3 separate regions of the Homo sapiens genome follow, and regions 1 and 3 are each linked to region 2. Evidence: promoter capture Hi-C in 16 types of primary human blood cells and fetal thymus (Javierre and others, 2016). All regions are on one chromosome and are shown on one strand. Each heading gives the region's core, a stretch centred on a gene start or on the middle of the fragment in contact. The rest is flanking DNA. Distances are from core to core; before and after follow the strand shown. Region 1 holds the start of RSF1 (remodeling and spacing factor 1). Region 2 holds the start of NARS2 (asparaginyl-tRNA synthetase 2, mitochondrial). Region 3 overlaps INTS4 (integrator complex subunit 4).

Region 1 (3,142 bases), core at 545-3,044, 750 kb after region 2:
TTGCCCATCTATTTCTTATCTTTCTATAATTACAGATTTCTCTTTTTTACATGGTTTGTGTTGTACCTTGCTTCAAATTCTTTTTTTTTTTTTTTTTTTTTGAGGTGGAGTCTTGCTCTGTCGCTCAGGCTGGAGTGCAGTGGCGCGACCTCGACTCACTGCAACCTTCGCCTCCCCGGTTCAAGGGGTTCTCCTGCATCAGCCTCCCAAGGATTCCCGGCTAATTTTCGTTATTTTTACTAGAGACGGGGTTTCACCATGTTGCCCAGGCTGGTCTGGAACTGCAGAGCTCAGGTGATGCACCCACCTCGGTTTCCCAAAGTGTTGGGATTACAGGCATGAGCCACCGCGCCCGGCCAAATTCTTTTTAGGAATTAGGTACTACATTGAGTTTTAAATGCACTCAGAAAATTCTCAAAGTAATAAATTATAGACTAAATAAATATAGCGGAATTCAGTCTAAATTATAGGAACTCCTTTTTTGATAACTAATATTTTTAAAGTACTCACTATGTGCTACGGCACTGTGCTAATCACTTTACTGTGATTTATCTAGTAATACCGTATGATGTAGGTACTATTATCACCCCACTCTAAGGAGTTCAAAGAAATAAAGAAACCTCCACAGTGTCATGAAGTAGCCCCGCTAGGACTCAGGCCTGGCTGAATCCAAAGCTCAGGCTTCTAAGCATAACGTGTACTGCTGCTTCTCAGGCTGCACATTCTATTTTACATTATTGGTAGTTTCTCTCTGGCGTTCTTTGTGGGAATGTTCACTGCCCCCGCCCCGCCCCGAAGTGGAACCCTGTCTTCTAACAAACTTTTCGCTGCTCCACCGTCTCCTGTCATGTTCCGCCTCTCAATGGAGTCCCAGCCCACACTCCGATTCTGGTCCCTGAACAGAGCCCCTTCCCCTCACACCATGGCCCCCTAGCAGAGCCTGGTCTCCTCAGATCCTCTTCTCCCAGCAGGGCCCCAACTCCTCACTCCGACGATTCCCCCAGAGTTCCGTTCCCTCAGATCCTGCTTTTCCAGCAAAGCTGCGATTCCTGTACCCCAGCAGAGAGCAATACCCCGTCGGCAAACTTCCACAGAGACATCTTACCGAGGTCCCAGCCCAGCCCCTAATTAAGGGCACACCTCTACCTTTCCCCTTCCCAACCTTCTCCCACAACTGTGCTTTCCCCCGCCCTATTCCCTTTTTCTGTTTATTAATTCTCCTCAACCTCTCCACCATCTCGTGGCCCAGTTTCAGGATTCCCCCGCAAACTCACCCACCGCACTGTCTCCTCAAAGTTGCGTTCCCAAACGGCGCAGTGCTCTGCCCGCACTTACGCTCCCAGCGCTGCTTCGGGATCTGCGCTCCCCAACTGCCCTCCGGGAATACGCCCTGCAGTTGAACAGCGCCCGAGGCCCCGCCCCCTCTGCGTCCATTGGCCATTGTTCTCGAGAAGTCCCGCCCCTCCCGCTTCCAGCCCGCCTCCCCGCCCCGCTTCCCTTGTTTTCATTCCCCCTGTCACACGAGGCAGTGGCAAGCCCGAAGGGGAGGAGAGAAGGGGGCGGAAAGAGGGCGGAAAGTGAAAGGCGCCGAGGGCCGCTCTGTCTCCCGTCTGACTCGGTTCTCGACTGCTCCGGGCCGCCGATGTATTGTGGGATCGCGGAGCCGTCCCTGAGACGCTGGGATCCGCAGAGGAGCCCACTTGAGAGCGCCTCCTGTCGTCTGTAAGGTTGCCTTGCCATCCCTCGGCACCACAACTTCCCCCGCCCCCCCATCGCCTCCTCCTCCATCCTCCAGTTCAAAATGGCGACGGCGGCGGCAGCGGCGGCGGTGATGGCTCCTCCGGGCTGCCCGGGTTCGTGCCCCAACTTCGCCGTAGTCTGCTCCTTCTTGGAGCGCTACGGGCCGCTGCTAGACCTGCCTGAGTTGCCGTTCCCTGAGCTGGAGCGGGTGCTGCAGGCGCCGCCGCCGGACGTCGGCAACGGAGAAGGTAAGCGAGGGGCCCGAACGCCCGGCGGGAAGCGGCCCTGGCGCTCTGCTACTCTCCGCTCTTCACAGGCGCCCCGGTTCTTCGCGGCTCGGGCCTCCGCGGCTCTGTCTTCCCCCTGGGACGCAACTCCGCCGGGCTGGTCTTCTCCGCCCAGCCCCCGGGGTCTTGGGCAGTGGGGAGGCGGGGCGGAGGCCCCCTAGGGCCACTCGGCCGGGCGGGGAGCTGAGGTGGAGGCGTTGCGGGCTAGGTGTGGGCTGGAGGCGGGGAGGGGTCATTGTGCCGGTCGGCAGCCCCGGGGACTGCTTCTCCGCGGCGGAGGGCGGCCCCCCACCCCGTCTCCCCCTTGGCGGCGGGGGAAGGGGAGCGCAGGTTCCGGCCAGCTTTGCGCTTTTCTCCTCCTCCCCACCCTTACTCCCTCCCCTCCTCCCACCAGTCTTCCCGACCATCTCGGGGAAGGCTGGGCTCGGCTGCTCCGGACACCTCCTTATCTCCCTTCACCTGGGTGGGCGGGGGCCAGCGGACACTCAACTCTCCCTCCCTCTGTTGGGAACTCCCCTGAGAGATTTGTCCCTTTTCCCTTCCCCTCGAGGGCTGCTTTAACCCCTAAAACTCCTTCCTTGAAGTGGGGAGGTCTGCTCCTCCCCCACGGGAGGGGGTTCTTCTCCATTCTCGGTAGGGGGGCGAAGTCGGTTCAGCTCCACTGTGGAGAGGAGAGGGTTAATTCCTCCTCCATAGTTCTCCTTCCTCTCCCCACCTCCCCCAAAATAATAGGCGAGCATCTCCCCACTTTTCCAATCCCTTCCCCCTTCATCTTGGCAGCCGGGCTTAGGCGAAGAAGTCGTCTCCCTCCCATTTGCACGGTAGGGTGGGGTGGTTAGTATGTAAGCTGGAGGAGGGGCTCTGACGGAGGGGGAAACAGTTGAAGAAGGTGCTTGTTGCTCATGTTTCTCTCTCTGGTGCCGCTGGTCTATTATTGGTGTTCGCAAGTGGTGCTCCTTCCACATAAGGCCACCGCGCGGGTGCAGGGCGCATGCTCTGCCCGGCCCCATTGAAACTTCCTGCTGCTGCTGCTGGTTCTTTTGCTGGAGCATCTCAGCGCTGCGCCTGCTGCCTCCAGCCTTCACACTGAGTGCTTATACTCACCCCCATTTATT
Region 2 (3,091 bases), core at 504-3,003:
AAAAACTAATGGACTGAGAATTCACTCCTGCAAGGGTGGCACCAAGGCCTTCATGATCCAAACACTTCTCACTAGGTTCCACCTCCAACATCAAGTATTTTCAGATGAGATATTTTCTAGCCTGTCTTAAGAATGATTTTACAATTTTTCCAGGCCATTTGCCCTCCTGGCAACCTTCCGTGTTCACCTTCTGGCAGGAAATTTTCTTACATGCCTACCTGGCAAAATATTGATCCACTTCAAAAATTCAGCTTAATTTTCTCCTTCTCTAGACTATATTATATTTTATCCAACATATTTTATATTATAAGTATATAATATATAATATATCCAATATAATTTAATTATATATTATAATTTATAATTATAATTTTATTATATTTATAATTTTAATTTATTAAAAGAACCAGGGAACACATTTATATTATATAAAATATAAAATTGTGATACATGTATATATTATAATTGTATTATATTTTATCCAATATAATATTTGGATAAAATATCAAAAATAATTTTTTGGATAAATTTAAGAGGTAGCCTAATATATAAGGGTGACTTTTCAGTCCAAACAAATGCAGACAACTCATACATCTATGTGTGCACTTACTGGTTTATATTTCAGTAGTCTCTTTTCTTGCTTGTCTCCATCTCTAAAGCATGAGCTCCTTGATGGAACAGATCACCTTGGGACACTATGTAATACAGCATACTGCTTAAGTGCATAGAGCCAGCACTTCTGGGTTTAAATCTCACACTTAGGGAATGTGTATCCTTAAGTAGGTCATCTAGCCTTTCTGTGCGTAAGTTCTCTCATTTGTAAAATGGGTATAATAATAGTAGCAACTTTAAGTAAGGTAAAAGTGAGAGAGAGAGAGTGAGAGTGAGAGGGAGCGGGAGAGAGACAGCGAGGGCGAGCGCTGGTCTTGAACTCCTGGGCTGAAGCAATCCTCCTGCTTCTGCCTCCCTAAGAGTTGGGATTACAGGCGTGAGCCACCGCACTTGGCCAAACGTTTTACTTTTTAAATTAGATTAAAAACCTTTTAATGACCGTCATTGAGTTACAGAATTTTTTTTTTAATAAAACGTAGCCTAATATATAAAAGGGTCATTGTTTCCAGGTCAAACAAATGCAGATAGCTGTGTTGGAGGGCAGAGGGAAGAGGGAGACTTGGAGGATTCTGGCAGGAAACACTCGAGTTTCCTCCAGTCTCTGCAACATCTTCCCACCGTCTTGCCTGCCATATGCAAGGTCCCTCCAGTTCCTTTTATTTACCTGTCAGAGGACTACTTTCTCCAGGAAGCCATCTCTGGCGTCCCACGCTTAGGCTCTGTCAGGCAAACTGATCGCCCTTTTATGCAACTGTCTGTTTAGCTGTCTGATACCACACAACTGTGACTTGCGCATTGGGGCTATGTCTGATTTTTCTCTGCGGAGTACTCAGGAAAGGAACGACTGATCTCTTCAAGCGAATCCTGTTAACAGCTAAGAGCCTCCTCTTACTTGGATCCCTATTGTTGACTGATGGAGACGGTTTCCCTCTCCATCAGTCACTCCTTGCCTCTCAGTTTCTCAGCCTCACCTGGAAACTTTAGAAATGAAGACCCTCAGATGTGCTCCCACGTTCTTTCAGCGATAATCTCTACAACCTTAGGGCATTAGCTCCGCCCCGTCTCGGCTCCTGACCCCGCCCCCTCCCGCACGCCTCCCTAAGCCTGGGTCACAAGTACGCATGCTCTCCCTTCTTCCCCGTAGCGTGATGACGTAAGCGGCGTTGGCGTGGTGTGGTAGGAGTGGTTGCGCGTGTTGCGGCCCGGGTTCTGTTCGTAGGTTTACAATTGTCGCGGGTAGTGGGGCGCCCCAGCTGCCAACTGCACGTGGTTTCTTTCTGGCGTTTGCCTAGTGTCCTGTCCATTCCGCCCCGTTGGGAAGTGGGAAGCGGAGAGGTTCTGTGGGGACAGAGCTGGGAGTCCTGAAGGAGAAAGCGCGCAGCCGAGGGGCTCTGGAGTGCCTTAGAGCAGAGCTGCGGCCGCGGAAGGGGAGCAGCTGAGAAAGGAGGGCCGCTGCAGGCGGGGTTCGAACCGTGGGGTCTGGGCTGCTCCCGCGGAGGGCCTGGGCGGACGCGGGATGCTGGGGGTCCGCTGCCTGCTGCGGTCCGTGCGCTTCTGTTCCTCCGCCCCCTTCCCCAAGCACAAACCTTCAGCCAAACTGAGCGTGCGGGACGCTCTCGGGGCTCAGAACGCGAGTGGGGAGCGCATTAAGATCCAGGTTGGTGAATGGGAAGGGAGTGGGTTTTTTCTTGTAGGGACTTTTATATGGCACATCCACATCTAGCTTTTCTTTTACAGTCGGGTCAGACACAACCGCCAGCAGGGAAAAGTTAGAAAGTGTAGGCGTCGCGGGTTTGCACTTTTCTGATTTCCATTACTTTTCACAAAACTGTTCCGATAACTGTAAAGCGCTGGAACTTTGCTTTCATGATTCCAGGGTATTACCTGTAAACTTGTTAATCATACCAAAAGTGTAAATGAACAAGCCCCCTTTCTCTATCTTTATCCCTTATAATGAATATCCAGGTTTATAAAGTGGTTGTCTTGACCTCCCTCCTTGAGAGCAGAAACCGTGTCTTACCTGCCTTTGTATTCACACATGGCTGACAGCAAATACTTGTTCAAACCATGCCTTTTAAACTTTTAGCGACCTCAGTGCCTATTGTGGGGGTCTGCATGTAATTTATTTTTAATGAATTCGGAGAAAGACTGGAATGTAGCAGTTTGAAAGAGCTCTGGAGTTAAGCTGCTTAGGTTTAAATCTCTGCATAGCGTTTATGCGTTCTACACCTTATTTTCCTCTTATGGAAAGAGATAATAATTGTCCCTGAGTCCTGAAAATTAAATGAGGTAATGGAAGTAAGATATTTAGAACAGTGGCTCATAGTCTACAAATGTTAGCTGCTATTGTTTCTCTTGCTGATTATATTATTTGCAGCAGCTCCACATAGAAGAGGTGCAGAATAAACAAGGTGTTTGACTGTTTCTTATTAGGTTGCTGAAGTACACTGATGTGGTTATTTATTTTTTGAGACAGGGT
Region 3 (3,053 bases), core at 342-2,841, 690 kb after region 2:
TGCCCATTCAGTATGATATTGGCTGTGGGTTTGTCATAGATAGCTCTTATTATTTTGAGATACGTCTCATCAATACCTAATTTATTGAGAGTTTTTAGCATGAAGGTTGTTGAATTTTGTCAAAGGCCTTTTCTGCCTCTATTGAGATAATCATGTGGTTTTTGTCTTTGGTTCTGTTTATATGATGGATTACATTTATTGATTTTCGTATGTTGAACCAGCCTTGCATCCCAGGGATGAAGCCCACTTGATCATGGTGGATAAGCTTTCTGATGTGCTGCTGGATTTGGTTTGCCAGTATTTTATTGAGGATTTTTGGTGGTGGATTCATTAATTTTTTGAAGGGTTTTTTGTGTCTCTATTTCCTTCAGTTCTGCTCTGATTTTAGTTATTTCTTGCCTTCTGCTAGCTTTTGAATGTGTTTGCTCTTGCTTTTCTAGTTCTTTTAATTGTGATGTTAGGGTGTCAATTTTGGATCTTTCCTGCTTTCTCTTGTGGGCATTTAGTGCTATAAATTTCCCTCTACACACTGCTTTGAATGTGTCCCAGAGATTCTGGTATGTTGTGTCTTTGTTCTCGTTGGTTTCAAAGAATATCTTTATGTCTGCCTTCATTTCGTTATGTACCCAGTAGTCATTCAGGAGCAGGTTGTTCAGTTTCCATGTAGTTGAGCGGTTTTGAGTGAGTTTCTTAGCAAGGCCTGCGGACCCTGCCCCGCCCCCTCGCCGGGCGCCTCCCACCTATTCTACACCTCTCGTGTCTCTTCACCCTGCCAGACTAGAGTCAAGCTCAACAGGGTCTTCTTTCCCTGCTGATTCCGCCAAGCCCATTCCCTTGGCTGTGGTTTCGCTGGATAGTAGGTAGGGACAGTGGGAATCTCGTTCATCCATTCATGTGCGTCACTAATTAGATGACAAGGCATTTGGCTACCTTAAGAGAGTCATAGTTACTCCCGCCGTTTACCCGTGCTTCATTGAATTTCTTCACTTTGACATTCAGAGCACTGGGCAGAAATCACATGGCATCAACACCCGCCGCGGGCCTTCGCGATTATTAACTCTTGTAAGCCTAATCTAGGTTACTGTATTCTACCTGATGATCATTCATACTGGCCATTTCCTTCCTCTGACCTACTTGGGCCACAGGTTTCTAAGCTCCACTTTTGGAGTAGACAAATGAAAGAAGGCTTCCAGCAACCATTTCACAGAGGAGTGAAGGCCTTTCACCAAGGACAGTTTTGCTGAGAATGCTGGGAATTTTTTTTTTCTTTTTTTTGAGACAAGGTCTCTGTCTGTTGCCTGGGCTGGAGTGCAGTGGCATGGTCAGCTCACTGTGACCTCAAACTTCTGTGTCCAAGGGATCCTCCTGCCTCAGCCTCCTGAGTAGCTGGAACTAGAGATACACACCACTACACCTGGCTAATTTTAATTTTTTTTGTGTGGAGATTGGGGGGTCTTACTTTTTTGCCCAGTCTCGTCTTAAACTCCTGTCTTCAAGCAATCCTCCCGCCTCAGCCCCGCAAAATGCTGGGATTATAGGCATGAGCCACTGCACCTGCTGAACACAGAAATTATGGCCCCTGTTCATTTGTTTTTCCCATGATCATTGCTGTTTCAGCCCCCCTCTGCCCTTCTTTTTCTTTCTTTCTTTCTTTTTTTTGAGACAGAATCTCACTCTGTCACCCAGGCTGGAGTGCAGTGGCAGCGATCTCAGCTCACTGCAACCTCTGCCTCCCAGGTTCAAGTGATTCTCCTGCTTCAGCCTCCCAAGTAGCTGGGACTACAGGCACACGCCACCATACCCAGCTAATTTTTGTATTTTTAGTAGAGAAGGGGTTTCATCATGTTGACCAGACTGGTCTTGAACTCCTGACCTCAAGTAATCCACCTGGCTCAGCCTCCCAAAGTGCTGGGATTACAGGTGTGAGCCACTGTGCCCGGCCCTCCCCTTCATTTTCTAAAAAAAAATGAAGCCCAAGCACTTGTCTTTAAAGATAATAAGGATCAGGAAACTGAGACACCTGCATTTTTTTCCTATAGTAGGTTTGGGAGCTTGGAGCCTAGAACTAGAGTGGGGAGTAGCAGCTTTAAGAAATAAGGGTAGGCCAGGTGTGGTGGCTCACGCCTGTAATCCCAACACTTTGGGAGGCTGAAGTAGGAAGATCACCTGAGGTCAGGAGTTCGAGACCAACCTGGCCAACATGGTGAAACCCCATCTCTACTAAAGATACAAAATTAGCCGGGCATGACGGTGGGCGCCTGTAATCCCAGCTACTTGGGAGGCTGAGGCAGGAGAATCACTTTAACCCGGGAGGCGGAGGTTGCAGTGAGCCGAGATCATGCCACTGCAGTTCAGCTTGTGTGACAGAGTGAGACTATCTCAAGAAAAGAAAAAAGAAAAAGAAAAAGAAATAAGGGTAGGCTGGGCACAATTGCTCATGCCAGTAATTCCAACACTATGGGAGTCTGAGGCAGGAGGATCACTTGAGGTCAAGAGTTGGAGACTAGCCTGGGCAACATAGCAAGATCTTGTCTCTACAAAAAAATTTAAAAAGAAAATTACCTGGCGTGGTGGCACGTGCCTGTAATCCCCACTCCTCAGGAGGCTGAGGCAGGAAGATCACTTGCGCCCAGGAGTTTGAGGCTTCAGTGAGTTATGATCGTGCCACTGCACTCCAGCCTGGGTGGCAGAGTAAGACCCTGTTTTAAAGAAAAAAAAAGAAAGAAAGAAGTGTAGAATCAGGGGGAGGCCCCATGACCTGAGGAGAGATGAAGGATTATAGGGCAAGTGGGTGAGACATGCCTTCCGCAGTTTCAACATTGACCACAGTTTCAACATTGGAAGACCTGTGTGGTTCCCTACTCTGCCTTCATAAGTATATTTACATAGAGCAGGTCCTAGTCCTAGGATAAGCTTCATTTGTTCCTCTAGTTCCTTTGTGCGCTGCAGTATAGTAGGCTGTCTACACAGGGAGCTGGGAGGTCCCCCAGGATGCTGAGGAAAGAACTCTGTTGCAGTTTATGAGCCTTAAAGAACTGGCCAGTGATTTGAGT

The links. Contacts are between HindIII fragments. The CHiCAGO score rates a contact against its expected background, and 5 or more counts as called.
Region 1: the fragment with the promoter of RSF1 here is called in contact with the fragment with the promoter of NARS2 in region 2 in 5 of 17 cell types (non-activated CD4 T cells, fetal thymus, total CD8 T cells and 2 more); the score reaches 7.3 in non-activated CD4 T cells.
Region 3: a fragment that was not itself captured here is called in contact with the fragment with the promoter of NARS2 in region 2 in 2 of 17 cell types (fetal thymus and neutrophils); the score reaches 6.0 in fetal thymus.

The regions. Positions count from the first base shown.
Region 1 is chr11:77,819,374-77,822,515 of GRCh38, reverse strand. RSF1 (remodeling and spacing factor 1) reads left to right here and starts at 1,794. Exons shown (of 16, transcript NM_016578.4): 1 at 1,794-1,988. The coding sequence starts at 1,802. AAMDC (adipogenesis associated Mth938 domain containing) reads right to left here and starts at 1,372. Exons shown (of 4, transcript NM_024684.4): 1 at 1,275-1,372. RefSeq lists silencers at 1,335-1,494, 2,085-2,174, 2,315-2,404 and enhancers at 1,595-1,734, 1,745-1,914, 1,467-2,439, 3,035-3,142, 2,440-3,142. The HindIII fragment of the contact is 10,465 bases long and covers 1-3,142 here.
Region 2 is chr11:78,573,526-78,576,616 of GRCh38, reverse strand. NARS2 (asparaginyl-tRNA synthetase 2, mitochondrial) reads left to right here and starts at 1,753. Exons shown (of 14, transcript NM_024678.6): 1 at 1,753-2,269. The coding sequence starts at 2,129. RefSeq lists enhancers at 1,458-1,597, 2,258-2,367. The HindIII fragment of the contact is 10,208 bases long and covers 1-3,091 here.
Region 3 is chr11:77,884,426-77,887,478 of GRCh38, reverse strand. All of the region lies in intron 21 of INTS4 (integrator complex subunit 4), which reads left to right. It also overlaps a transcript of AAMDC not described here. Among named protein-coding and RNA genes, the nearest start is that of AAMDC, 65 kb to the right of the region's middle. The HindIII fragment of the contact is 2,648 bases long and covers 268-2,915 here.